Regions from separate parts of the Homo sapiens genome. Here regions 2, 3, 4, 5, 6 and 7 are each linked to region 1. The links are contacts of gene promoters, found by promoter capture Hi-C in blood cells and fetal thymus (Javierre and others, 2016). All regions are on one chromosome and are shown on one strand. The core of a region is centred on a gene start or on the middle of the fragment in contact, and the rest is flanking DNA. Distances in the headings are between cores, read along the strand shown. Region 1 holds the start of MIR17HG (miR-17-92a-1 cluster host gene). Region 2 overlaps IPO5 (importin 5). Region 3 overlaps IPO5 (importin 5). Region 4 overlaps RAP2A (RAP2A, member of RAS oncogene family). Region 5 has its middle 8.4 kb from the start of RAP2A. Region 6 overlaps MBNL2 (muscleblind like splicing regulator 2). Region 7 has its middle 10 kb from the start of MBNL2.

What was found. Contacts are between HindIII fragments. The CHiCAGO score rates a contact against its expected background, and 5 or more counts as called.
Region 2: a contact is called between a fragment that was not itself captured here and the fragment with the promoter of MIR17HG in region 1, in 1 of 17 cell types (naive CD8 T cells). The highest score is 5.5, in naive CD8 T cells.
Region 3: a fragment that was not itself captured here is called in contact with the fragment with the promoter of MIR17HG in region 1 in 1 of 17 cell types (M0 macrophages); the score reaches 5.4 in M0 macrophages.
Region 4: a fragment that was not itself captured here is called in contact with the fragment with the promoter of MIR17HG in region 1 in 1 of 17 cell types (fetal thymus); the score reaches 6.5 in fetal thymus.
Region 5: a contact is called between a fragment that was not itself captured here and the fragment with the promoter of MIR17HG in region 1, in 2 of 17 cell types (activated CD4 T cells and naive CD8 T cells). The highest score is 7.2, in activated CD4 T cells.
Region 6: a contact is called between a fragment that was not itself captured here and the fragment with the promoter of MIR17HG in region 1, in 1 of 17 cell types (total CD8 T cells). The highest score is 5.2, in total CD8 T cells.
Region 7: a contact is called between a fragment that was not itself captured here and the fragment with the promoter of MIR17HG in region 1, in 1 of 17 cell types (non-activated CD4 T cells). The highest score is 6.0, in non-activated CD4 T cells.

Annotation. Positions count from the first base shown.
Region 1 is chr13:91,345,567-91,349,341 of GRCh38, reverse strand. It overlaps MIR17HG (miR-17-92a-1 cluster host gene), which reads right to left and starts at 1,655. Exons shown (of 3, transcript NR_197388.1): 1 at 1,383-1,655. RefSeq lists enhancers at 1-69, 70-617, 2,087-2,166 and silencers at 167-1,156, 1,207-1,986. The HindIII fragment of the contact is 6,871 bases long and covers 1-3,475 here.
Region 2 is chr13:97,987,047-97,990,821 of GRCh38, reverse strand. It overlaps IPO5 (importin 5), which reads right to left. Exons shown (of 29, transcript NM_002271.6): 7 at 1,658-1,760; 8 at 600-696; 9 at 285-389. It also overlaps the pseudogene FTLP8. Among named protein-coding and RNA genes, the nearest start is that of IPO5, 35 kb to the right of the region's middle. The HindIII fragment of the contact is 3,878 bases long and covers 135-3,775 here.
Region 3 is chr13:97,968,135-97,971,909 of GRCh38, reverse strand. It overlaps IPO5 (importin 5), which reads right to left. Exons shown (of 29, transcript NM_002271.6): 3 at 2,080-2,187. Among named protein-coding and RNA genes, the nearest start is that of IPO5, 16 kb to the right of the region's middle. The HindIII fragment of the contact is 4,000 bases long and covers 1-3,630 here.
Region 4 is chr13:97,440,483-97,444,257 of GRCh38, reverse strand. The region is part of intron 1 of RAP2A (RAP2A, member of RAS oncogene family); the gene reads right to left. Among named protein-coding and RNA genes, the nearest start is that of RAP2A, 8.2 kb to the right of the region's middle. The HindIII fragment of the contact is 7,461 bases long and covers 1-3,775 here.
Region 5 is chr13:97,423,839-97,427,613 of GRCh38, reverse strand. No RefSeq gene overlaps it. Among named protein-coding and RNA genes, the nearest start is that of RAP2A, 8.4 kb to the left of the region's middle. The HindIII fragment of the contact is 3,782 bases long and covers 1-3,618 here.
Region 6 is chr13:97,229,216-97,232,990 of GRCh38, reverse strand. All of the region lies in intron 1 of MBNL2 (muscleblind like splicing regulator 2), which reads right to left. Among named protein-coding and RNA genes, the nearest start is that of MBNL2, 8.8 kb to the right of the region's middle. The HindIII fragment of the contact is 3,354 bases long and covers 487-3,775 here.
Region 7 is chr13:97,210,391-97,214,165 of GRCh38, reverse strand. It overlaps a transcript of MBNL2 not described here. Among named protein-coding and RNA genes, the nearest start is that of MBNL2, 10 kb to the left of the region's middle. The HindIII fragment of the contact is 879 bases long and covers 1,270-2,148 here.

The DNA of each region.
Region 1 (3,775 bases), core at 406-2,905:
AGACCTCGTGGCTGCAAGCCGGGATAAAGAGTTGTTTCTCCAACTGCTGTGGTCCTGATGGCATGCCGTTAATTTTCTCTTTTGGTGATATTGCAACGACGAGCCTGCCTTTTTCAGTTCCTTTTCCCTTTGCTGCAGTTTAGGAACAGAAGACCGGGCAGGAACACCCGAGACTGCAAAGTGCCCGCCACGCTCATGGAGCCCGGGCCGGCAGCACATGTCGCACAAGGGGGAGCGCGGCCCTGCGATTCTCCGCGTAGCCGCCAGGGGGCGGCGGGTCAGAGTCAGGCCCCGCCGGACGCGGCAACCCCCCCAACCCGTTTCCCGGCGGCAGCCGCGCGGCGACCGGCGGCGCCGAGGCCCGAGTGCGGCGGGGACGCGGGCGCGCCGCCCCTCCTTTGTGTCCCCCAGCCCCCCCGAGCCCGGCCCAGAGGGGCGGGGGCTCCGCGGCCGCGGTGCCCGTCGCACGCGGCCCGAGGCCTAAGCCGGGAACAATCGGCGGCGGCGCGCAGTCGCCGCCATGTCCCCCGCCCTCACCCCCGTGCAGCCCGCCCCGCAGGAACATGGCGGCGGGGACGCCGCTCCCGCCGAGCCGGGCTGGCCCTCCCGCGCCACACTCCCAGCAAGCGGCCGGGCGCAGGCGGCTCCACGCCGCGGCTGAGGCCGACTGCGGCCTCCTCCGAGGGCCACGGCGGGGAAGTTGCGGGCCCCGCCCCGAGGCTGCCCACGCGGGCTAACAAAGCCCACGCGGAGCGGGGGTGGCGCCCAGGCCGCGCCGATCTCGGCGCCCCTCCGCCCACCCTCGCGCGTACAAAGTTTGGGGAACCGCGGGCTCCCGCCCACGCCACGCCGCCCGCTGGCGCGCAGGTACCTCGTGGGCGCGCCCCCTCCCGGCCCGCGGCCTGCCCCATGTGCCGCCGCCGCCGCCGCTTTGTTCTGGAGGCGCTTTAACTCTCGCCCTCGGGAGAAACTTTCCTACCCAGAGACCCCACGCCCCGCGCGCGCCCCGGGCCCCGGAGAAGGCACGGGCCTCGCACGTCCTCTCCCCGAGGGGCCATTGTGTTCGCCGTCCGCCCACCCGCCTTCGGGTCGGCCCAGGCAGGGTCTGCGCGGGTCCCGGGCGCGGCCGCCACGCGCACGCCGCCCCCTCCCACCCTCCCGCCCCGGCCCTGCCCCCCTCCGCCGGCCCGCGGGCGAGCGAGGGGGCAGCCAGATGCGGCTGCCACACGCCGGGGCGGCCAACGGCCGAGACCCGCCCCGGCCACGCCGCCGCCGCCACGCTGCCCCGGGCCAGTCCGCCCCGGGCCGCTCCGCCCCGCCCGCCAGACCCGGGCCGCACACAACAGGTTTCCCTCCGTCGCCGGAGGGGCGGGCAGACTCACCAGGAGGAGTAGCCGCCACCATCTTCGGCTGGCCGGCCGCGGGCTCCTGCTCCCGCCTCCCCGCCCGCCTGCGCTTTACTACGACCGGAGGCCCCAGGCCGGGGGTGCGGCCGGCCGGCCCGCCCCGCGAGGAGAGCTTCGCGGAGGAGCGCGAGCCCCGGCGGCGCTGCGGTAGTCGTCCCCACCCCCTCGGCCTCGCCCGAGGGCGCGAAGTGGCGCGAAGGCGCAGGTCGGGCGGCGGCGGCGGCACCTCGAAGGACCATGTGGGTGAATGAAGGGCGGCGGCTCCCGCCTCAACGTAAATACGGACAAGCCCCACTCCCTCATTAGCATAAAAAACAAAGTACTTCCGACCTCCCCGCCCGCCCGCCAATCACCGCAGGCCCCGCCCACGGCGGCTCGTTCTTGGCGGCCGGGAGAGCGGGAGCCGGGAGCCGCTGGCGGCGCCGCGCAGCCTTCCCCGGGCCGCGCTCCCCCGTGGCCCGCCCACCGCCGCCAGCCTCGCGGAGCGCCTCGCCCGAACACCTCGCGCCACGCCTCCGGCACGCCCTCCGTTAACAAGCTCTGCGCGCGTGCAGACCCCCGCGCGCCGCACACCCTCCTGGAAGCGCACGCTTCCCGGGGCTTCCTGGGAGCCCTGCTCTCCCTGGGACTCGACGTGTACGCTGTGCGATCACAGTTTATTACTTTACCGGCCCTTGGTGGGTTTCCGAGGTAATTAGGGGCCTGCTCCAGGCCAACCGGAACCAGAGAAGTAAAATCCAGTGACTTTAACATCGAAACAGAATTACTCGCTGCAAAGATCGTTTGAGACCCAGAAATAAATACATTACACCCGACACTCTTGTGAATGCACACTTCGTGGCAATGTGTTTCCTTAACCTGGCCGCGTGTAAACCAAAACGCATGCCCGAGCAGAGGTTTCACAGCTGCAGTACCTGAGCCTCCCCTCTCATGCCCAGCTGCATTTAGTAAGAACTCTGGGTTCTCCAGTAGAAATAGCATAGCTCGGAAAGAACCTCATAAACAACCACAAAGCTGAGAAAAGAAGCCCAATCAGGAGCACCTCCTTCTTCACATTGTGGTTCAGGAAATTCCGGAATTCTCAGAAACATAATTGTTAAAAGTGAGGATTCATAACATTTACGAGAAATACAGCAATTATAAATTGGTTTAAATCTAGTAAGTAGCTACTGCAAAGCACATATCACTGGTTCGTGATTGTACAAGTCAACTGTAAAACACACATTACCAAAGGATGTCTTTAATGCCCCAATGTTAAAATTTTTGACATTCAAACCTTGACAGTATTGTCATTTACTGTCTTTGACTTATTTTATCATGCTTTGCTTAAATCCAATTGTCAAACTAGTGATGACATAAAAAATAGTGGATTAAAGTTTTGCTACTCTTTTTTTTATTGAGTCTAGTTTCTAGATATTCCTTTCTTTGTAAATCAAAATAAAAGGCCAAATCTGAAATTTTACAATATCTAATATTTCTGTAATATAGTCATTTATGAACGTTTCAAAGAGGAAAACACTGCTAATTTTATTACAAGTCTAATTTTACGTTACTTTTGGTCGGCATTGACTAATATGTCAATGCCTTTTTCTTTAAAACTTTATCTTCTGTTTCAAATTAGAATGGTTGAGGCGGGGGGATGTTGTGAGTAAGATTGTTCATCACACTCTCTGAATCATGGGAAATCCCACCTATATACAGGTTTCTTAGCAGGAGTTATTCATCTCATAGTTTCCTTCCAATTAAAGTCAACATTGAAATACTACTAGCTTTAAAAAGCTGTTTTTAGGTATCTCACTATATTTCTGTGGAAATCTGACATACAAGCAACTATTTTCTGTGACTACAGTATAAGAAATAATTCTTAATGTATACCCTTTTTTATGGTAATCAGGATTTTGGAAGACGCAAATTCATTTAAACCTACTGACTTGGAAATTCCAGAAAGTTTCAGAATTAGTAGGTTGCATTTTAAGGGTTTCGCTCATACTTCCTTTCAAAATTAATAAATTATCTTAAGTATAATTAGAATAATTGAAAACGTTTTAATCCCAAATGAATTTGAAGCTTAGCCAACTTGATGTTTTTTGGAAGTCACTACTAGTGAGAAACCTATCTTCCCTGATTTTAGGGGCCACACTTGGGTATACTTGATAACTAAAGGGAAGATTTTTGTGGTTATAATTTTGAAGATCACAAAAATATGTGAACTGCTAACAAATGCCTTCTGCAACCAAGGAATGTAAAAATAAAGCAATCTGAAATGCCAAAGTGAGACACACAGCCTTCTCAAGTCAGCTAAAACACAGTACTGTTTTACACAATCCAGAACATTCAGAACGTTTTAGATAAAATGAAAAGCTCAGTTC
Region 2 (3,775 bases), core at 824-3,323, 6.6 Mb before region 1:
GGAAATAATCTACATGACCATAAATTCAACAATAAGCATATAATTGCTTACAACATTTACATTACAGAAAAATTTTATAACTATAAATATTGTAAGAGACTAAAAATGTCTTTCAAAGGCAGTAAACATAAGCTTAATGGAGACTGAGATTTGCATGTTTTGTTCACTGCTGTATGCCTAGCGCCAGAACATAATAGGCAATATGAATTTATTGCATAAATGATTGAATGCATTAAAGAACCAAATAAGATATAATTATGATTTATTCTATATTGCTTTCATACCTGTAGGAATCCCGGTAGCAAGTCTGCAAAATGTTTGAACAGAGCAACATTATGCTCATTTGCAAGTATAAATGCAGCTGTAGCTCTAGCAGATAACGTCCTGATCTAAAATCAAGAGGAAAAAATGTCAAACATGAGAAATTTTTGATAAACGCAAATTCAAGTTTTCTTACTCAAGATCAAATTATTCTTTATCAGTAAAACTGGTGTTTGTATTTTAAAGTATAAAAGTGAAAACAACCTCCTAATATACTAATTTCTTTCGCAAATTAGATTAAAATAGATGGTTATATTAATAGGATTGAAATTATTTACCGACGGGTGTTCCTGATCTTGCATACACTGAACTAACATTCGTTTGATGACATCTAAATAGTGTTGTTGCTGGTTCCCAAAAATTCCAGGAAAGTTCCTAAAAGATAATCCAAACATTCTTTAAAAACTACATTATATTAATATCTTGGTAAAGTATGAGCTAGAATCTCTAATGAACTGTTTGTTTACCTGACTCAGTACGCATTAATCCATAGGTTGAACATCATCTACCCATTCTCTAAGCAATCCTGTTTTTGGGTTAAGTGAATGAAAACATACTGGAGAAGTCTGGGCTGGGAGTAGAGGCTACTCAGCAGCCCATTCCCAGCTACATGCTTTTATCCTTATTACTCTGTCTCAGTCGAAAGCTGACCTGGAGTGCAGGATGGGACAAGAGCAACCACAGGTTTTCAGATGAAAACTACAAGAACTATGCTCTCCGGCCATCTGCATTCTCTAATCTGAATTACTGATATAAACAAAGATATATATGACAACTAAAGTACAAAATGATACAAAGCCTAAAATGTGTATGATCTTGAGCACATTTTAGGTGTAGTAAAAAAATATAGCACAGTGGGGCAAAGAATAATCACTTAATTCTAAACTTAGACTATTTGGTTATAAATATACAGGTTTCTTAACATATTATAAAATTGGGTCACACAAGACCCAGAAAACATAATGGGGATTCACCTGCATTCTCCTTCTCCTCTTCAAGACACCATTATTAATGTGGCTTTTGAAAAGCTACATCCAGTATTGTGTTAATCTCCAAATAAAGGAGAGGAAACTGTTCAATAAAACTTTCAGAATCATAAAAGACAAAGAGAAAGCAAGCAAGCTGTAGAGAACCTTTGTGTACAAAAAAGATCATAATGTGAAATAAAAGGCCCTTTTAAAAAAAATTGCTTCCAATACAAATACAAACAAAACTTATGTAAAGGCATTATTATCATTTTAAGTATAAGGTTAAATTAGGCTAAAATAATCAGTTAAAAGGTGTTTAGGGCATTCATTAAATCAAATGTCTCAAAAAACTAGATTAATGTATATACCAGAAAATGTGAAGGGCAGCTTCCCGCAGTCCCACATTTTGAGAGCTGACTGAATCAAAAAGGAACTTCAAACCTTCGGGCCACTGGTTATTGCCATCCTCATCTGAAAGTAAAGAAATCCAGACATAAAGTTGTGTAAGTCAGAACTTCAATATACTAGGAGTAAATCCTTTCATTTCATAAGCCTCATTCAAACCTGGAGTAGTGAAAAATGTCACTTTTGCTATTTTTAAAAACTCCACAAAATTCTGTCCTTTAGCCATAAAAATGGCATCACAATCATGTTAAAAAAAAAAAAAGACCAAACAAACCAACAAACCAAACAACTCTGTATTTGGGTTAGATAATCAGATATTAACAGAGGTTCTTCTTTTTTTTAGATGGAGTTTCACTTTTTTACCCAGGCTGGAGTGCAATGGCGCGATCTCGGTTGACTGCAACCTCTGCCTCCAGGGTTCAAGCAATTCTCCTGCCTCAGCCTCCCGAGTAGCTGGGATTACAGGCGCCTGCCACCATGCCTGACTAATTTTTGTATTTTTAGTAGAGACGAGGTTTGGCCATGATGGCCAGGCTGGTCTCAAACTCCTGACCTTGGGTGATCCACTTGCCTTGGCCTTCCAAAGTACTAGGATTACAGGCGTGAGCCACCGCACCTGGCTGGCAGAGGTTATTTCTAAGGAGTGGAATTTGAAGAGAAGGCAGCACTTTTAACTGTACAAATATCTGATTGACTGACTCCTTTATATATACCATTGCTATTAAAGAGTTGAAAAAGTAGGCAAAGCTAGTATTTGGTGGCAAGGTCTTGAAACCAAAGTAACAACTACTTTGGAACTTGAGAAGACATCAGGGTTAGAATCTCAGGACCCATACAGGGTGCTCACACTTTGCAGTTTGGTTCAAATAGTGCCAGAGGATGTTATTAATATGTTTACTATTTAACAAGATTAAGAGATTTTAAATAATACTTTATAATAAAAATGAGTGACCACAAAAATCTACTGTGCCACTTATAAGACTCTGGTTATATTGTCACAAAGACCTTAAGAGTTATACAACTTACAGATGAATTACAGATGTTTTCTTTTTAAACGTCCCCCGATATTTGAACTTTTGTGAAATGACAATTGTGCTGCTAAGCTGACATTAAATGTTTCTTCAACCTAAAGATGATGCTTTGAGGGGAAATAAAATAGCAGCTTAAAAAAAAAAAATCTATGAGAGCACTTTGAATACTTTGGAAAGGTTTGCATTGTTAAGTGTTTCTGAATGAGAAATGATGTCACCTATAACAATTCCTATCTGCATACTTAAAACTGGAAAGTAGAATTTTCTAAACAATTTAAAAATATTCAAAATTAGGGCTGGGCGCTGTGGCTCATGCCTCTAATCTCAGCACTTTGGGAGGCCAAGGTGGGCAGACCATTTGAGGTCAGGCATTTGAGACCAGGCTGGCAAACAGGGTGAAACCCAGTTGGCTCCATCTCTACTAAAAAAATACAAAAATTAGCTGGGCGTGTGGGAGGCTGAGGCAGGAGAATCACCTAAACTTGGGAGGTGGAGGCTGCGGTAAGCCATGATCACACCACTGTACTCAAGCCTGGGCAACAGAACAAAACTGTCTAAAAAAATTAATTTGAACTCATCTAAAATATAAAGAATTGACACATTCCCCATTAGTTTCTAAGAAATGGTTGACATAAGAAAGGATACAATCTGCTAGCTGAATTGAACAAGGACTTACTGTATTACTGGTTGATGAGATTTTAAAATTAGTGTCATAATGTAGTAAGCTCAATCAATAGTAATCTCCCATGTAACCTTGATCTTCATTTCAACTATTAAAAATGCCATCTAAACAAGCTGCGCTTACAACCACACTTATAAATCCCTGTCTAAAAAAAAAAAAAAAGTGGTGGCTACACTCTCTTCTACGAGCAGGAAGTATGAAGATGAGTGGGACAAAACCCAAGACACCATGGAAGCTGTCATGGCCCTGGAGAAGAACTTGTACCAGGAACCAGGCCCTGTTGGATCTTCATGCCCTGGGTTCTGCCTGCACAGATCCCCATCTCTGTGACTTCTTGGAGAGCCACTTCCTAGATGAGGAAGTGAAAC
Region 3 (3,775 bases), core at 381-2,880, 6.6 Mb before region 1:
TGTAAATTCACATAGTATGGTGTCTGCATAAGTAGATACTCAATAATTATCTCTTTTATTAGTAAGATGGATTTGGGAGTTAAATGTGACCTTAAACAAGTAATTACTCTTTTTGTTTGTTTTTTTAGAGATGGGGTCTTGCTATATTGCCCAGGACAGTCTTGAACTCCTGGGCTCAAGCGATCCTCCTACCTCGGCCTCCCAAAGTGCTGGGGTTACAGGCTTGAGCCACCGCGCCTGGCCTTAAACAAGTAATTACTCTTAAGGCTGCAGCTGATGCATAGTCATGTGCATCACATTTGTGTTTATATAAAATCTACTTGCGTATTTTCTATTAGTCTCCCAATTGTGCAGAGTGAAATAGTGTATGGAATGGATTACAGATATTCAATAGACACTTGGCTGATAAGTAAGATTTCTGACTCTAATACTGATGTTTTCTGTTGCCTAGATAAGAGCCAGCAAAAAAAGTTTGAATGGTTGAAAAATTATTGAAAATATGCTGAAATATTCACATTTTTTTCAACTGCTTTTTATCAAAACTTTCAAGTTCCTGCTCTGAAGCAGTCTGTTACATACAGTCAGTGCACCTCAGCCAGGGGCAAGTGGGACCCTAACAATCCTGAAGGACACTGTGCACAATAGGCCCTCAGTAAATTGTGGAATGGAACACAGGCAGGGAAATTTTGACTTGATTGTTTTCTTTTGCGCCCTTTCTTAGTTTTATATTTGAGATTCAGTGGATATCTGCAGATGGAGGGACTCATTTTAGGGAGGCTGGGAGCAGAGGCTCCAGAGCCGGCCAATGTGCAAGTTCAAATGATAGCTTCACAGCCTACATGCTGTGTGATCTTGCCCAAGGTAACCTGTCTCAAGCCCAGTTTCTTCTTCTCTGAAATGGGTGTAATAGAAGTATTTTTTACTACTGATTAAAATACCTGGCAGTAGTGCCGGGCACAGAGTAAATGCTTAATAGATAGTGGCTGTGATTGCTAATACAGATTGCAACCTCTAAAATTTGTAACTTTAATTTTGATTGGACATCTACCTGTTAGACTATTGCATTTTTATATTCTCATTATATAAGTGGTCATGTTACAGGAATGCATCATAATTGTGGTTAAGAAAAAAATCAAGTTTGATTTGATTATCACAGAGCTATTAAAGGCTATTTCTGGCTTTCAATGCTACAGTTGCAATGCTCATTATGGTAGCCACTAGCCATTATGACTGTTGACCAATTGAAATATGGCGTGTTTGAACTGAGGTATGCTTTTTTCTTTTTTTTTGCGACGGAGTCCCACTCTGTCGCCCAGGCTGGAGTGCAGTGGCACGATTTCAGCTCACTGCAACCTCTGCCTCCCGGGTTCAAGCGATTCTCCTGCCTCAGCCCCCCAAGTAGCTGGGATTACAGGCGCCCGCCACCATGCCCGGCTAATTTTTTTTTATTTTTAGTAGAGACGGGGTTTCACCATCTTGGCCAGGCTTGTCTCGAACTCCTGACCTCGTGATCCACCCGCCTCGGCCTCCCAAAGTGCTGGGATTACAGGCGTGAGCCACTGAGCCTGGCCTGAGATATATTTTAAGTGTAAAATACACAGTAAATTTCAAAGACTTAGTAGGAAATTAAGAATAACAATTTTATATTGGTCACATGTAGAAATGTTAATATATTGTGTTAAATAAAATAGTTATATTTATTGATAAACTATTGTTAAATGTATTAATTTCACTTTTTTTTACTTGTTAAAAATATGGCTACTAGAAATTTTAAAATTGCATATGTGATTTGTATTTGTGGCTCATATTATATTTCGATTGGGCAGTGCTTTGCTGGAGAATAAAATAGCCAACTAGCTACACATAGGTGTCCTACATACTTTGTACATTGACATTTAGGAAGTGACTTTTGGCTGGGTGTGATGGCTCACGCCTGTAATCCCAGCACTTTGGGAGGCTGAGGTGGGAGGATTGCCTGAGACCAGGAGTTCGAGACCAGCCTGGGCAACATGGCGAGACCTTGTCTCTTTTAAAAAAAACAAAACAGGAAGTGACTTTTCCCCAGGTGAAATCAGTTACCTTATTGTGTTTTCTGTTGCTTCTAGTTTTCCAACTTGATCCTCAGGCATTTGAAGACATGCTGCAGTACTTTCTGAGCAGTGTTCCCTTAGGAATTTCTTTCCTCTGCTGATTTGACAGAAACAGAATGGTGGACCATTAGATGGTACTTAATTTTGAAGATGATATTCTTAAAAATCACATCTGATTTTGAAGAATAAATCCTTATCAGTTAAATCAAAGACTGGTTAAGAGTTGGAGAAAATAAAAATACCTTTTCTTGATGTTGTTTTCATTTAAAAGTGGTAAATGGATTTTTAAAAATCATTTGTTGCATTTTAATACCTGAAATAAAAATATACTTAGCAGAGGCCGGGTGCAGTGGCTCACGCCTATAATCCCAGCACTTTGGGAGGCCAAGGCAGGCGGATCACGAGGTCAGGAGATGGAGACCATCCTGGCTAACACGGTAAAACCCCGTCTCTACTAAAAATACAAAAAAATTAGCTGGGCGTGGTGGTGGGCACCTGTAGTCCCAGCTACTCGGGAGGCTGAAGCAGGAGAATGGTGTGAACCTGGGAGGCAGAGCTTGCGGTGAGCTGAGATCGCGCCACTGCTCACCAGCCTGGGTGACAGAGCGAGACTACGTATCAAAAAAAAAAAAAAAAAAAAAAAATATATATATATATATATATATACTTAGCAGAAAGATTTCATTTCTAAGTTAAATGATTTTTCTTAGAACACAAATAGGTTGAAAGTAAAAGGATAGAAAAAGACACACCATGCAAACAGTATTCAAAAGCAGATACGCAGCCTGGCCAACATAGAGAAAACCCGTTTTTACTAAAAATACAAACTTTAGCTAGGCGTAGTGGCAGGCGCCTGTAATCCCAGCACTTTGGGAGGCCAGGGTGGGTGGATCACTTGAGGTCGGGAGTTCAAGACCAGCCTGGCAAACATGGTGAAACCCCGTCTCTACTAAAAATACAAATGTTAGCTGGGTGTAGTGGCAGGCGGCTGTACTCTGTTACCTGGGAGGCTGAGATACGAGAACTGTTTGAACCTGGGAGGCAGAGGCTGTAATGAGCCGAGATGGTGCCACTGCACTCCAGCCTGGGTGACGGAGCAAGACTCCATCTCAAAAAGACAAAAAAACAAAAGCAGGTGGAATGGCTCTCTTAATTTTAGACAAAATAGATTTTAAGACAAAAAATGTCATTAGAGATAAAGAGGACATTTTTATAATAAAAAATTCAATCAGGAAGATAGAACAGTTTTAAACACATGTGCCTAACAGCACCAAAATACATAAAGCAAAACCTGACAGAATTAAGGGAGAAATAGATAATTCAACAAAAATAGTTTGAGACTTCTGTTCCCACCTTTCAGTAACGGATAGGATAACTAGATAGATCAATAATAAATGGAAGACAAAGAATAAGATAAACCAACTACACCTACAAGACAAGTGTAAGACACTCCACCCAAAAGCAGCAGAGTAAACATTTTCCTCAAGTGAATATGGAACATTCTCCAGGATAGACCATATGTTAGGCTGTAAAACAAGCTTCAGTCAATTTTAAAGGATTGAAACCAACAAAGTATGTTCTCTGACCACAACAGAATAAAATTAGAAATCAAGAACAAAAGGAAATTTGAGAAATTCACAAGAGATTAAACTGCATACTCCTAAATAACAAGTGCGTCAAAGAAG
Region 4 (3,775 bases), core at 722-3,221, 6.1 Mb before region 1:
TTACCGCCACCATTTATAGCCAATATATTTAGGTCTCTAGGGGAAGGCAAAAACACAAAGCACTCAAGGTCTATGCTATAAGTTCTATAACGTAGTGTTAGAGCACTTAAAACACAGAGGAGAAAGCAATGGGAAAAACAGAAATGTTATACTATACTAGGTATATAATTCATCTCAATATAGTAAGACAATTGAGCCTAATTCCTAAGAAGTCACGTGGCAGTATACAGATAAAAGGCTGGGTTTCATTCCTATTTCTGTGATTCTTGGTGAAACTTTATTATTAATATTTTAGGTTCACTATGTAAAGAAACACTTTACGTTCGTTATCTCACGAGTTACTACATCATACTCATATTACAAATGAGGAAATTAAAATGCAAGGAATGTCAACTTGCTCCTAATTACATAACTAATAAGTGCTGGATCTCAGCTTTAATGAGATTAACATTCGCTGTCTTCATGGATGAGAAGATAAGTATATACAATAAAATACTCCATTCGAGAATTATAATACATACAGTATTCATAATGTTCATTGGAAACCTAAAGATGAATTAATTTAGGACCAGGGGCAGTGGCTCAGGCCTGTAATCCCAGTGCTTTGGGCAGTTGAGGTAGTCGGAACACTTGAGGCCAGGAGTTTGAGACCAGCCTGGGCAAAATAACAAGATCCCATCTCTAGAAAAAATTTTTAAAGAATTACTTGGATGCGGTGGTGCCTGCTCTGTAGTCCTAGCTATTCAGATGGCTGAGGCAGAAGGGTTGCTTGAGCCCAGGAGTTAGAGGCTGCAGTAAGCTCTGATGGCGCCGCTGCACTCCAGCCTGGGCAACAGAACAAGACCCTGTCTCTTAAAATACTCTAAGATTTCATTTACAGAGAGAGAGCTGTAAAGATACTTAGTAGAGAAAATACTAATATGCATTGAATTATTAATATAGTATTTCCACATTTGAATTATTAATTTCTAAGGGTCAGGAAAGCATGAGAACACTCCTAAATGTTTTAAATAAAGGTTTTTCAATGTTTCTCTTGGGTAACTTTACTAAGTGATTTTAAGATATTTATAGTTTTACTGTCTTACAGGGAGAGGTGAATCAGTGTTATCCTGGATAGATGCAGCAGACCTCTATTTTGAGTTTTCTGAACCTCCTCAGCAACTGTTCTTGAAATAGATAATCCCGCACTCATGTATTCAAGTCTGAATACTACCACAACCTCCCTTTCTCTGTTCTAAGTTTTCACAAGGCAAAAGTTATCTTGAATTACTAGAATGAACAACATTACATGAGAAATACATTCTCATATTTCTAATATGCACAACAGAGATAAATGCTTTCTCAAAAGATATGCTATATCTTTTTGTTCAGTGACTAAATGCTATCTTTCTCTGAATTACAGGTAGTATTTACTAACTCACATTGGGAAGTACTTCATTTTCGTAATCTTACACAGCATTGCTGGGAACCAGAAAAGCAGGAGAGAGAAGATGAAATATTAAACAGATAGTTACATTTAGTTTTCTTAGAGTAAAAATGTCCTAGGATAGCAGTTTCCAAGCTATGTGTGATAAAATCAATTTGGTGGGTCATGAAAAGCACTTAAAAACAACGAAATAAAATAGAAAAAAATAAATAGAAAAAGTAATACAAGCAACATAGCAAGTTTACTGTCTTATGAAATGTTGATTTCGGCTAGATGTATTTATTCCTATGTGTGCACTAAGTCACAATATAAAATGTACTTCTTACTGAGGGCCCTGGTTAAGAAAATGTGAAATCCCCTGCTGAGTGGATCTATAAAAATAGAGATAGTTATTAATTTTTTCCAATATTTGGCTTTTTGACAGATAACAATTTAAAAATAAAAATTATAAGTCACCTTATTTCTCCCTAAATATAAATTTTGGTATGTTTTAAAATCTTAAATGTATTAGAGAAATAAAAAACAAAAACAAATCCCCATCTATACAATTATGCCAGAGAAAGAATTTAATACATACCATGACAAAATCTTAGCTAGATTATGTATTAGAATCTTCAAATATTGTTTTTAGTTATTTTGATTACTTTAAATTTTACTAATATATTTATGCTTTATTTAACATACTTGACTGAAATGCAGATGTCCACAATTACAGCATTACTATTATTGATATTACTCTACTAAAAGGCTGAGTTTGATCTGGTAAAGCAGAAAGGATGTTTAAGAAATTAAACTTCTCTCTGTCAGGCTGAGAATAATTTTTAATGATATGAACCACAAGTGTCAAAGTAACAAATGAAATGGCAATATATAATATATGGCATATTTCTGCACACCATTAAAATTTCAAGATAAATTTCCTACATAAACACAATATCTATACATTTCCTTTAGTAACTATTCAGTCACCATCAGTTTTACCTTGTTTGAAAGTCTGCTCGTATTCAAACTCTTATTACTCCAAAAAAACTTAGAGTACTTAAAACTCTTTTTACAACATAGGCCTGAAAAATATAAGTGTGTAAAAAAACAGTAGGTAAGAATAGATGGAGAGAAACAGAAAACAGGGAAAAATCAAAACAGAAGCAAAGAAAACCCCAGAGTAAGGCATACATGCTCCCCTAGGCAGTAAGGTTCTAAAGACAATGACTAAAAGAGAACTGAAAAGAAAAAAATACCCCTGAAAAAAAATTCCCTTAAGTACAGTGTACTTGGTTTTATGTAAAGATCCTTGCTTAAAAATATGTACATATACATGCATAATATATGCACCTTATTGTGCCATATGTAATTTCCCAGAACTTCACACACAGAAATTAAATCACTCAAGTATATTGCTACTGAAACTTTAGCAAATAGATTCCAACTTTGTTGGCTCTTCCTGTTGGCTGTGAAATCCAGTGATTTTTCTTAGTTCCTCTACCTCTTCCTTAATGTTTAATAATTTAAATTATTTTTGCCCTCCATTAAAAAATAAGTATTAGTATAATTATTCCTTATTGTAGATTTTATTGATACAATTATCAAATCTTAACTAGACAAAATTGTGGGTCACAGGCTGCTGATTCTTTAAGGTTCATATTAAACTTGACCCCTTCCCTCATCACCCCGGCCAGACAAAAGTGCTCTCACAGAATGTTAGAGAGGAAGAGACATCATCTCCTCCAACTCCAAATTGAGCTTTAAAAATTACAATCCTGGAGTGGCAAAAAGAAAACTATATACTGTAACCTGTAATTTTACAATGCAGCCAAAACAAAAGTTTCCTTTTCAGGAAAAACTTCTGGGCCACATAAAGTGATTCACTGTATGAAGTTCAGTTATGCAAGATAAGTAAGTCCCAGACATCTGTATGGTAATAGTACTTCTAGTTAACAATACTGTATTGTATAAACATTTGCTAAGAAGACAGAACTTATGTTGTGTTCTTACTACAAAAAAAATGAATGAATGAATGAATGAATGGATAGATAAATAAAGCAGGGGGAAACTTTTGGAGGTGATGGATAGTTTTACAGCATTGATTGTGGTGATTTCACAAGTGTATGCTTATCTCTAAACTCACTGAGTTGTACACATTAAATATGTCTGGCTTTTTGTACATCAATCATACCTCAATAAAGTGGTTTTTAAAGAAAAAAAGATCATGAAAAACACTGAGCTCTTCGAGTCATTTTCAAAACAAATTTCAATTTTTTGACCATTTAAATCCCTCTCATGAAAGATGAAGTGAGCACTCATAACTATTTCCCTCCTCTCATCCTGACTTACTAGTTATATTGTTTGTTT
Region 5 (3,775 bases), core at 478-2,977, 6.1 Mb before region 1:
TTTTCCAATTAAAATGTAAGTAGGAGATATACAGTTAAATTGTACCATCAGTCTGTCAACTTCGGGGCATGCAACTATGCTTACCTGGATGAAAAAGAAAATGAAGAAAGTAAAATAGAAGAACGTAGTTTAAATTGGGGGATAAGTCATGGCATGAGTATGTGCCCAGAGCGAGTATAAGAAGGCCATGGAAATCCACTGTATTTTTGTCATACACTTATTAATTTGTTTCAATAAGGTTAATCACTCCACATGGTGTAACAAGAAAAATAACAGCCTTTACAATTACTAGATTCTTAAACTTATTTCAAATACTTTTTAATTTTTATGAGATTATAAGAATTTTTTAAACTTTGAAGCTGCATGCCTTGTCTGATTCCTTCCATTTCTCTTCTGCTTCTCACATTATTGTGTTCAGCAATGGTTTGGAGGCATCTTGGGGAAGACAGAGCAGAGTTATGGTGTAAGGACCATCCAACTCTTCTCAGCAGCCATCCAGTTATCTTGTCAAGGGAAGTTACTCATCCTGCTCTCTAGAATTATCTCCTCAAAAATCGGTTTCCTGCTTTTCACAGAACAGTACACCATCTTTTACTATTATCCTAATTAATGCTTCTCACACAGCCTTACAAAATATTAGTCACTTAATTATTAACCACATTCATTGGGCTGCACTAGTTGAAAAAGATGTCTTGTTTACTTAGTCAAAGCGCTGTCTCTGTGCAATGGCATTGATGGTGAAATTGATCAGAGTCTACGTTTGAATGAGAGAAGCTGAGGGAGACATTTCAGAAATAGTAAGCCTTTTTATTTCCTTGGTGTACCAGGTAGTCAAGGAAAGTTAAAGTATTTTTTTATACTTTGTCTTGATTACATTCTTTTGGGGACTGGTCTCTGGTGTTAGGTTTTTAATAAAGATTTTGGCCATTTTCCATGCAAACTAATGTTTCCAATGAAAAGATACAACATTGCATGTAAATTACCTAAGAAATATTAATCTGTCAATGTAATTAAATTATATAAGCAACAATTAGTTTCAAAGCTGGAATGGATTAAGTCAGTTCTATACTGCACACTGACAAAGTGAAAGGAACTAAAATGGACAAATTGTGGTGCTGTAAGGTTATGATTCTTAAGATTTTTATATTAAAGTTGCAGAGTTTCAAAGTGCTCAGTGCTGCTCTTTACATTAGGGCTGTAGACTCTCTTAAGCCCGAGGATTCTATCTGGATATGTGATTGATAGGGTGGAGGCTGGGCTGAGGCTTAGTAAGACATTTAACCATGCTTTGTATAATACTCCTTAAATGTTGGCTCTCACAAACATAGAAATAGCGAACATTAACTAGCTCTCTGTTTCAATGTCTACCATCTACCTGTCAACTTAAAATCATGAAATCTATAAATTTGGAGAGGAGAGCTTTATTTCTTACCAAGAGTTGCAGCCAGCAGGGTGGCCATCCTAACTGGCTGGGAAGTGTAACCTCAGGCAGAGACCAAAAGCAAGTTATTCAAGGGAGGATGAGATAGGAATTTATGCTGAATGGATTGGCCAAGTATATTTATTTAACAGATTGTAGGAGGAGCTATACATATCCATGAAGAGGGGGCATGTGCATGAATAGTAAGCAAACATGGATGTTACATGCATCCCTTGTTCACTTTGGGGTGCAGACTTCACATTTAAATGCATTCCAATTAAGCCCTATATGTCAAAAGGTGAAGCAGGGACAGGAAGGCACTCAGTGCTCAGCCTCTGTAAACCAGACAGAACCAGAAGATGGTCAGTGGTCTCTTATCAGGAGAAAGTTACTGAAATCAGTCTTTTATCCAATCAAAGCTGTAGCTGTGGCTTGTGGAACAGAGGGGTCAGTTAGTCAGCATCTGGTGCTCAGTGAGCTACGATTGTTTCAATACTGCTTATCTTGAGGCCAGTGCTTGTTTAGCTGCTAGAGAATAAGAAAAACCTGTGGCAATTAGAGCATAGTTTATTCTATAAGGGTAGGGGTACGTGACTTCAGCTTTTTCTGGCATGGCCTTAGGTCTCATTTATTATTTGGTACTTTATTGCCACAAGGAGTCTGTTCCATTAGTCTTATGATCTCTATTTTAACATATCTATTTTGTTTTTTTCCTCCACTTGATTCCAGAAGGACTAAAGTACATTTCATAAATACATACAAGATAAATAAAAATAAGAAAACCTTCAATAAAAATGATCTATATTAATACATTTCCAGTTTTAGGGTCAAATAGATTGTTTCAAGAAACCTTAACATTATCTATTCAAAATAAGTTTTTTCAGAAACTGTGTTGCACATTGGTGTACATCTCTTTAAATAGATTTCACCTTGGCATTCACACTTTGTCTGGCTCTGTGTGTGTTAGGGTTGGGGTAGGGGGAGCATTGTTAATGCCCAAATCCTTCCCAAGTCTCATCAGTGAATAGTCTGGGGGAAGGAGGGTTGGGAATGTGTATATTGAACAAAATCCTCTAAATGATTCTGACTTGCCTCTGGGTTGAAAATCAATTTAACAATACTATGTGTTTTCTGAAGTAAAAGTCACACTTAAAGTAACTGGTGATCTTGGAAATTTTTACCAAGGATACTGACTAATGAGATGGCCTACCCCAAATCCAGAATTTAACTTAAATTCCACCTCCCCCTGTTTTCCTTAAACTAATCTCTCACCATATTTTCCAAAAATGTTATACTTTTCTTCTCATATGTACTGCAATTTGTCTTGCATTGTATTTATCTTTGTGATTTCAGCTAGTATATGGACTCATGGATGTCTGATGGGGAGGAGGGTGGAGAATCTATAAGTTTTTTCATCTTTCTAATCTTTATTATGCTTTAGTCAATAGTATATATTCAATAAATGCTGAATGAATTGGATTAAATATAAAACATTAAATGTTATGAAAAGTATGCTTAATTTTCAAATTATCAAATGATTCTCTCTATTGAAGGGAAATCAATGGTGTTTTTCAACTTTGAACTGAAACTCTAAACTATATGAAATCATAACAATGTGAAATTTTAAACAGTATTATTCTTCATAAAACAGTAATATAGGCTTTAATTCACAAGAACTGCAATGGGGTCTCATCCTTTAAGCAGTCATTTTTAATGTTCTAACCAAATCCTTATACTAAAACAGAAACAACTGCTGAATGTGATAAAGTAATGGAAAATATAGAAAAACTCCCATTTTCTCTATCTCATTGTGTGTGAAATCATTCTTAAAAAGAATCACTTCCACTTCTATTTGAATCAAAAATAGCCAATAGGGCAATTCTAACTGGTTAAAAAAAAAAAAAAAACCAACGAGAATAAAACAAATCACCAAGGCAAACGAGTTTTAAAAGATATGAGTCATCAAGGTTAAAAAAAATTAGAAAAATATATAAAAACTTACACATGTCCTTGATATAGTTTTGTCTTGTGTCCCCTTAAAATTTCAGTAGCTTTTCTTGTTGCTTAGAAATCAAGGACATCTGATTGGCAGGACTTTGACAAGCTGCCTAAAGGAAACTATGATGTTTTCAGTCCCCATATTAAAGACCCCCTTTTACATTCCAGCTGAGGGCTGGTATAGGCAGGATAGGAAAGCTTACAGATGGTGGGAGGCACAGAACCTTCATAGGGGCTGAGGCAAGAATATCCAGAAGACAGGAGAGAGAATGAAAGATGCCAGCCGCCTCATTGTGAGTTCACAGTGGCTGCCTTGGTCGGGAGCTTTTGGCATGGTTCTCATGAATTACACAATCT
Region 6 (3,775 bases), core at 914-3,413, 5.9 Mb before region 1:
GTCTTACAGTTGATAACGAGCTTTTACCTATGGTATCTATTTAAGGTGTCTAAATGTTGAGATCCATCAAGTTGTTTAAGTTCATTCAGTGTACGTGCGCACACACACACACACACACACACACACACACACACACACATAGCGTCAAGAGTAAGAAAAAGGCCGACAAATAATCACAGCAAATAGTGGAGATGATGCCCTAGCTATCCTTGGCAATATACCAAGTCCCTTTGTGAGGAGGGACTTCTGGCTAAAACTGAACTCATGCCTGCACAGTATGCCAGTAATTGCTTATGTCTATTTAACTATTTAGTGAGCTCCACTAACAGTACTTACAACTGTCGGGGAAGTTTTTCTAAAGCAAACCCTTTTTGCTGCAATCCCCAAGTAAGAACTGGTGGACAAGGGTTGCATGTTTCCATCCTACCATCTTGAGTTTTACCCCTTATTCTGTAACCTTGGCAAGTAACTTGGTCTCTCTAAGCTTCATTTTCTTCATGAAAAGGTTTAACTGAGTTGATATACAGGAAGCTATCAGCAGAGGAGGACTTTCCATATAGTAAGTGCTCAATAAATTCAATAAATGTTAGTTCTGTTTCATTCCTAAAAGGTTATTGGTAAATTAAAAATGCATAAAAATACCGGCCATCTGTGTGTGGACTAAATGAGCATCTGGGTAGGGAACACTTCCTCTAAATCAGTTTAGCTTGACTCCTGGTTCTAGGAAAGAGGGGGCCACATGTGGGACACACAGGAAAACAAGGCATCTGAAAGGAGGGAGGACAGACAGGGGCACGAGATGGATGACCTATAACAAGGTATGAGACTCAACAATCAGGCCTGGGCATTTCACTTAAGCTACTTCGTTAGACAGCTGTCTCTTCTCATAATGTCTTCGTTTCTATTACAAGACTTTAAAACTAGCATTTTTTAAATAAATGCGATGTTAATGGCATATAACCCTTCCTCTCTATCCTTCACATTCTTTGGAGATGAGGAGGAGAGAATGGCGCTATCTACATCTTAGGGAATGAATGTGTCAGAGCTCCTGGACCTAATTCACCAAGGATGTGAGGATGCAAGTAGGCACATCAGACTTCTGGGCTCCAGTTCTGACCACCATCCAGAAGAAAAGGAATCTAAGGCCGGTTTATAATGCATATATTCCTTAGGATAATAAAAAAAAAAACAACTCTGGAGCAGACAGATAAACACAACAGCCTTCCCTGGAGGCAGTAACCAAATCTCTTGGGGAACTTGTGAGAGTCTGTGTCCACTGAGAAGATAGACGTCTCGGGAATGGGGAGATAGCCAGAGACAGGCTGTGTGTAGTCACAGAACTGCTTGCAGCTGCTGAAGTCCCTGGCTTCATGCCTTCAGCCCCAGCCACATTGGTGCAAGGCTGGTGGGATATATCAGTTCAACCTCAGCTTCACTCTGAGGCTGAACAGCCTGGAAAGACCTGCTGTGTGGAGGAGGTAGGTCCCAGTCTCCAGACTGCCAGAAGATCCTCCAAGGAGCCATCCCAGACCCAGTGATCTGCTGCCACTCACATTGTGGCAGTGACACTTCCAAAGCAGCTATTGTATTCTGGAGCCTCCTGGATGAACATCAGCTTTATCACCTGGAGCCTGTTACAAATGTAGAATCTTGACCTCAGCCCAGCCCTACTGAATCAGAGTCTACATTTTTAATGAGATCCCCAGGTGATTCGCAGGCACATGAGAGTTTGAGAAGTGCTGTCTGGTTACTTATGGTAGGTGTCTGGTGTGACGGCATCAATCTATTTGCATACTTCAAGTACTTTCTCATCATGAAAGGCTATTTTCTTCAGAGAAGTCCTTATGGCTGGGTTCAATTGAGAACTGCTAGAATCAGAAATAAATGAATCCCCAGGGTCTTTGAGAACAGGATGACAAGTGTCAAGTGATATCTCCAATCACTCTGGAATTACTGTTCTAACCAGTAACATCCCCAAAATATATACATTTTGAGAGATGGATGCAGAAGTATTGATAATTATTGGTTTTTAAATACTCTCTCTGCTTATTAGTGAAGATCGACTTTTAAAAAGTCAACTGTATATACGAGAGATACAGCTACAAAGGTTCCCTTAACTATCTAATATTCTGTGGCTCTAAACAAGATTCTGAACCAATATTTGCCCCAAAAGGACCACAGCCAGAAACCCTTGCCAGAGAGGAAAAGCTATGTGCAGGAGAGTAGTTCAACCCAGGAGACTACACTGTTTTCTTATGGAATCCTGGAGATTAGGCTATGGTGCTTAATAGTATTGGTTGTTCATTTTTTAAAAACAATTTTGCTCCTTTGTGGGTATTTATTTTTCTGATTCTTTGCTAGCTCTTATTCTCTTTTGGGCCCTTGCCATGTTCCCCAAGATTCATCCTTTGTCATTGCCTATCTCTGTTCACGCTGCCTTCTTTCACGAGGTGTGAGCACCAATGGCTTCAACTACGGCTTCAACACAGGTGTGTCTGAGCTTGTATTTGTAGCCTGTTGTCCAGGCTGTTCTTCATTCCCACATTGTCAAATGTTTATGAGACATCTCCACTTAGATGTTTCATCATTAGCTAAAAACACCATTCTCAAGTCTAAAAACTCATCATCGCCCACCCTCCTTCAACCCTATTCCCATTTATTGGTCCCTTTTTCAGACCACTCCCATTTCTGTCAGGGTACCATTGATATCACTCCTCCTAGAATTTCTGCAATGGCGTGACCTCAGCTCACCGCAACCTCTGCCTCCTGGGTTCAAGGGATTACCTTGACTCAGCCTCCCGAGTAGCTGGGATCACAGGCATGTGCCACCACATCCGGCTAATTTTTCTATTTTTAGTACAGATGGGGTTTCACCATGTTGGTCAGGCTGCTCTCAAACTCCCAACCTCAGGTGATCCACCCACCTTGGCCTACCAAAGTGCTGGGATTACAGGCGTGAGCCACTGTGCCTGGCCCAGTTTCACTCTTCTAAGCTCTCACTGCGTTCTATTATTTTTCCTTCAAGATGCCTTTTGGATTTGCCCTTTCTCCTTCATTTGTCATGCTAATGCAACCCTTTTCCACTTTGTACCTGGAATATTGTGAAAGTTTTCTAGCCGGTGACATCACTAGTTACAAATGTTCTGACCTCTAACCCTATCTTACAAGTCCCAATTGAATCTTTATAAAGCATTAGATGTGATGTTATAGGTAATGAAATTAAACTCTTCCACAGGGCCCTTCAGCTCATTCATATCCTGACTCCACCCCCTCCATCTAACTTTATTCCCCACTGCACCCTAACACTTCATCTCCATCTCCAAGGTCAAGGTTCCTTCCTGGCCACTATACCACATCATGCTATTCCTCCTTCCTGAGATTTTGACCACTGGCCTCTCCAAACATTTTTGATCATACATTCTTATCAGAATGTTTTTTTTTAGATCAGAAACAACCACTAAGGATGGTTACTTTATAAATATTATTCTTGCATAACCCTGCTAATATGTTACACACATTATCAAACATCCATGAAAACTGACATTTTTAAAGGATGAGCTAAATAATATATAAGATGGAAGTTCACCTATTTCCTTGCCAAGTGAATAATCTTGCCCTTGGCCCGGGGTGTGGACATACCACATTAGAGACATGGATCCAGACCAAATACATCCATTCAGACCCAGAGGAGGCAGCTCTTCCTGTGGGAAGCCTTATCTCTTACTCCCACCCAAACTGAGCTCCACTTTCCTGAACTCTGAGAACACTGAAAATT
Region 7 (3,775 bases), core at 460-2,959, 5.9 Mb before region 1:
GCTTGATGAGCAGCTTAGATCCCTACAAAGAGTTTTTAATGGAATCAAAGGGTCTTTAATAACCTTTTCTTTAATGGAATGAGAATAACGTAACTTGTTCTTCAACGGTTCAGAAGTGGGTGGGTTCTAGCACAAGACTGTGGTGAGATTGTAGGAGTCTCTGTAGCAGTGGAAGTATGTGAGCCTGCTGCCTGATGAAGACATTGTCATCTCCAACAGGGAGTATGGAATGGACGTGGGGAATAGATGAAGCATATAGCATGTGTGTTATTGTAGTGTGATGACAATCTTGACTTTAAAAATTAAATGCAACTGGTTTTGATTTACTACAATATACCGTTCCTGAAGGAAAGACTTGTCAGTGCTCCTATTCCCCTCTCCATCTCTTTCTGTTTATTTTAGGATCACCACCCTACCTAGATCCACTTGTTCACTCATCTGATTAGGGTTTATCACGTGACTTGCTACATGTTGGTCCCAATTGAAACATTCATGATGTAAAGATAAGCAAGATGTAGATGGGACCCCGAGAATCTCACATTATTTCACATGATCCCCAAAGTGAGATCTCTGGGCACTCATCTCAAATGTTTCTGAAGAAAAGGACCCAGGGCTAAGTTTGGAAACCGTTGAAATCACTCATTAAATGTGTGTTTTTACCGAAGGACCTCTCAGAGCCTTGATTCTGGGAATGTGCATTGCAAATTTCCAAGACGGGGTTTTCTAGTTCACTGTGTCTGAGAATTAATTTTACCAGAGGCTCTTTTACTTAAAAAAAGAAATCTAACTAGTATGGTGTTCTTGGGGGTTTTATTTTGGAAAACTCTGGCCCAGGTAAAATGGTTTTTTTTTCCTGTTCATTAGACCGTGTCCATCTCTGCTTCTGCCTATCTTTCTTCACATTCAGAACTTCCCTCACTCTCTTCTGTCAACAACCATAGCTTCTAGATCTTTCTTTGTCACCTCTATTCAACCTCATTCAACTCAACCTCTTTTATTTGATGCTATATGTTCTTACTTGACTGAGGTCCTTAGCTTTACTAACTTGAGGCATCTAGCACACCTCAATGCTACTTTCTATTTGTTTCTCACAACCATGGTTATCTGGGAAGTCCCTGTGGCTCCAGGATCTCCTGTCTGGACCAGATCTTCACAGTAGCCTTTCTCCTCAGGCAAATCTTAGAGAAGATTTGCCCGGGTTTTTCTGACCAGTAGAGGGCCCTTGGTAGCTGTCTAGTGACCTATGGGCATAACTACCCTTCCAAAGCTTAACCCTGTCTAAATTCCATGTTTCAGCGAAAACATCAATTTCTGGAAAATGTGTTACTCATCTCTTTCCTCCATCAAATGCTACTCATGACAAGCACTTCTGGGGTGCTCACATAGTGTTGACGACAAAGAGAGACATCTATTTATTAAATATGTACATAGTGATTATACTGAGTCAAGCACAATGCTATTGTGTGAAATCCATGACACTATTATTATCTCAGGTTTACAGATGGGAAAACACCTGAATGATTAAGTAACCTTTCCAGGGTCGCACAGCTGGCAGGTGGTGCAGCCCATTTGCCCCAGGCAGGCTGGCTTCAGAGGCCATGTTCTCTACTGCGACACCTCACTGGCTCTAAATGTAATAGAAAAATTATATGGCAAATCAGAAGGTGCTAAGTGCAAAGAAAAAAGTAAAAGGAAAAGGAGAATTTGGGCCTGGTAGAGGGGATCAGGCAATCAGGTGGAGCTGGGAGGGGGTAGCTGTGGCTTCTACTGTGGGGGTAGCTGTGGCTTCTACCGTGGGGCCAGGACAGGCTCATGCAGAAAGCGCCCTCTGAACAGAGACATGTAGGGGTGAGGGAGTGTGTTTCCACTGTCAAATGAATAGAAATCTCTGGAGAAGTGTGTTCCAAGCAGAATATTCAAACCCCAGGAGCAATTCTGGAAAACGTTCATGTGGGAGGGACTTCTGCATGCAACCACTTTGGCCTCTAGTTTGCCTGAGTCCCACCCCTTGTTTCTGAATTCCACTGATACTGTTCTCTTTGTACAAAGGGCACCATTATCAAGAGCCATAGCACGGTGGCTTCTGCCTGTCTTTCTTCAAATCCAGGACTTTCCTCACTCTCTTCCCTCTATCAGCCACCATAAGCTTGGAGATCTTTCTTTGACACCTTTAGATATTTCCCCATCTCCCCTTTCCCTAAATCCAAAATACTGCTATCTCTTTCCCAGTAGATTCATCACACTAACTCATTCCGATATCCATTTAGATCTCGGCATATAGTCTTGATAAATTAAAATTTCAAACTTACGTAAAATGTTCTGCCTATTCTCCCAAGGACATGTGCTATGTTTTATAATGAAATTTTAATCTTTATTTTTAAAATAATTTGTGCAAAGAGAAGGCATCTGGCTTTGTTTTATCTGCTACAGAAAAGGGATCATGTCATGGGTATATTCTTTACCAGAAATGGGCAATTATTTTGCCTTCCAGCTGGATTAGAGAGAAAAACAGGCTCACCTTAGCAACAGCATTCTGATGCTGATGTCATCACCTCACATCATTTTGGTCTCATGTCACTGCATTCTTTCTCTAAAATCTCAAGCCACAGCTTTATAGATCTCTGCATTTAGAAGGCTTAATGAAAAAGGAAGAAATAACCATACTTAAATATTCACTGAGTCATTCTAATCTTGAACTCTGTTAGCAGGTCCCTTTTCCACAGCAAAACAAAATGAGAATTGTGCTTTTTCTACTCCAGTTTTTGCTGCAGCTTTGCCTGCAACCCTCGTCTCTCTCAAGCTCAGGCCCACACACTCCTGCTCTATACCCCCAACCCATGGGATTGCCAACCTCTCCAACAAGCCTAATCACTTACAAATAGAATGATTTTATTTCGCAAAGCAGTCCAATCCTGAGACGATTATGGTGAGCTTACAATCATGGATCCTAGGGCTAGAAGAAATCTTTCATCTACACCCTAGCTTCTTATTTGAAGATGAGGAAGCAGACAGCAAGACAAGGCTTACTTTTGTAAAAGACAGAAAAGATTTTAACTCCCTGGAAGTTTGTGGCTCCTCAAAATTTCAATGAGGATTCTCATAGGGTGTCAGATCATGCATCAAATGTTATGTACCTCACCCCTTCCCTCACCCCACCCAACCCCTGCCTTCCTCTCCCTGCTACCCTTTCACCACCCCTCTTCTCCATACACAAAAATCCCATATACCCAAGTCACTAAATCACAGCAGCCAGAAATCCTTCCCACACCAGGAACTGGACTGAGTCCCTTCCACTTAGAAGTTTCAATACTGACTTTGGTCTCACAGCAAATAACATTTAAAAAACTGAGCACTTTGGGAGGCCAAGGCGGGTGGATCACTTGCGGCCAGAAGTTTAAGACCAGCCTGGCCAATGTGGTGAAACTTATGCCTGTAACCCCAGCTACTTGGGAGGTTAAGGCATGAGAATCACTTGAACCTGGGAGGCAGAAGTTGCAGTAAGCCACGATTGCACCACTGCACTCCAGCCTGGGCAACAGTGTGAGATTCTGTCTCAAAAAAAAAAAAAAAAAAAAAAAAAAAAAAAAAAAAAAATTCACAGTTGTATAGAATCATTTAAATTGTGTTTATGTATAGTTATAAAATTTGTATATATCAATATGAAAAATTCACTGTCAATGAATAGAAAACTATCCACATACATACTACACTTTGGTAAAATCAGGCTCTCCGTTTTCAAAACCACAAGCTATGCCACAAAGACAAAGACTTCCTT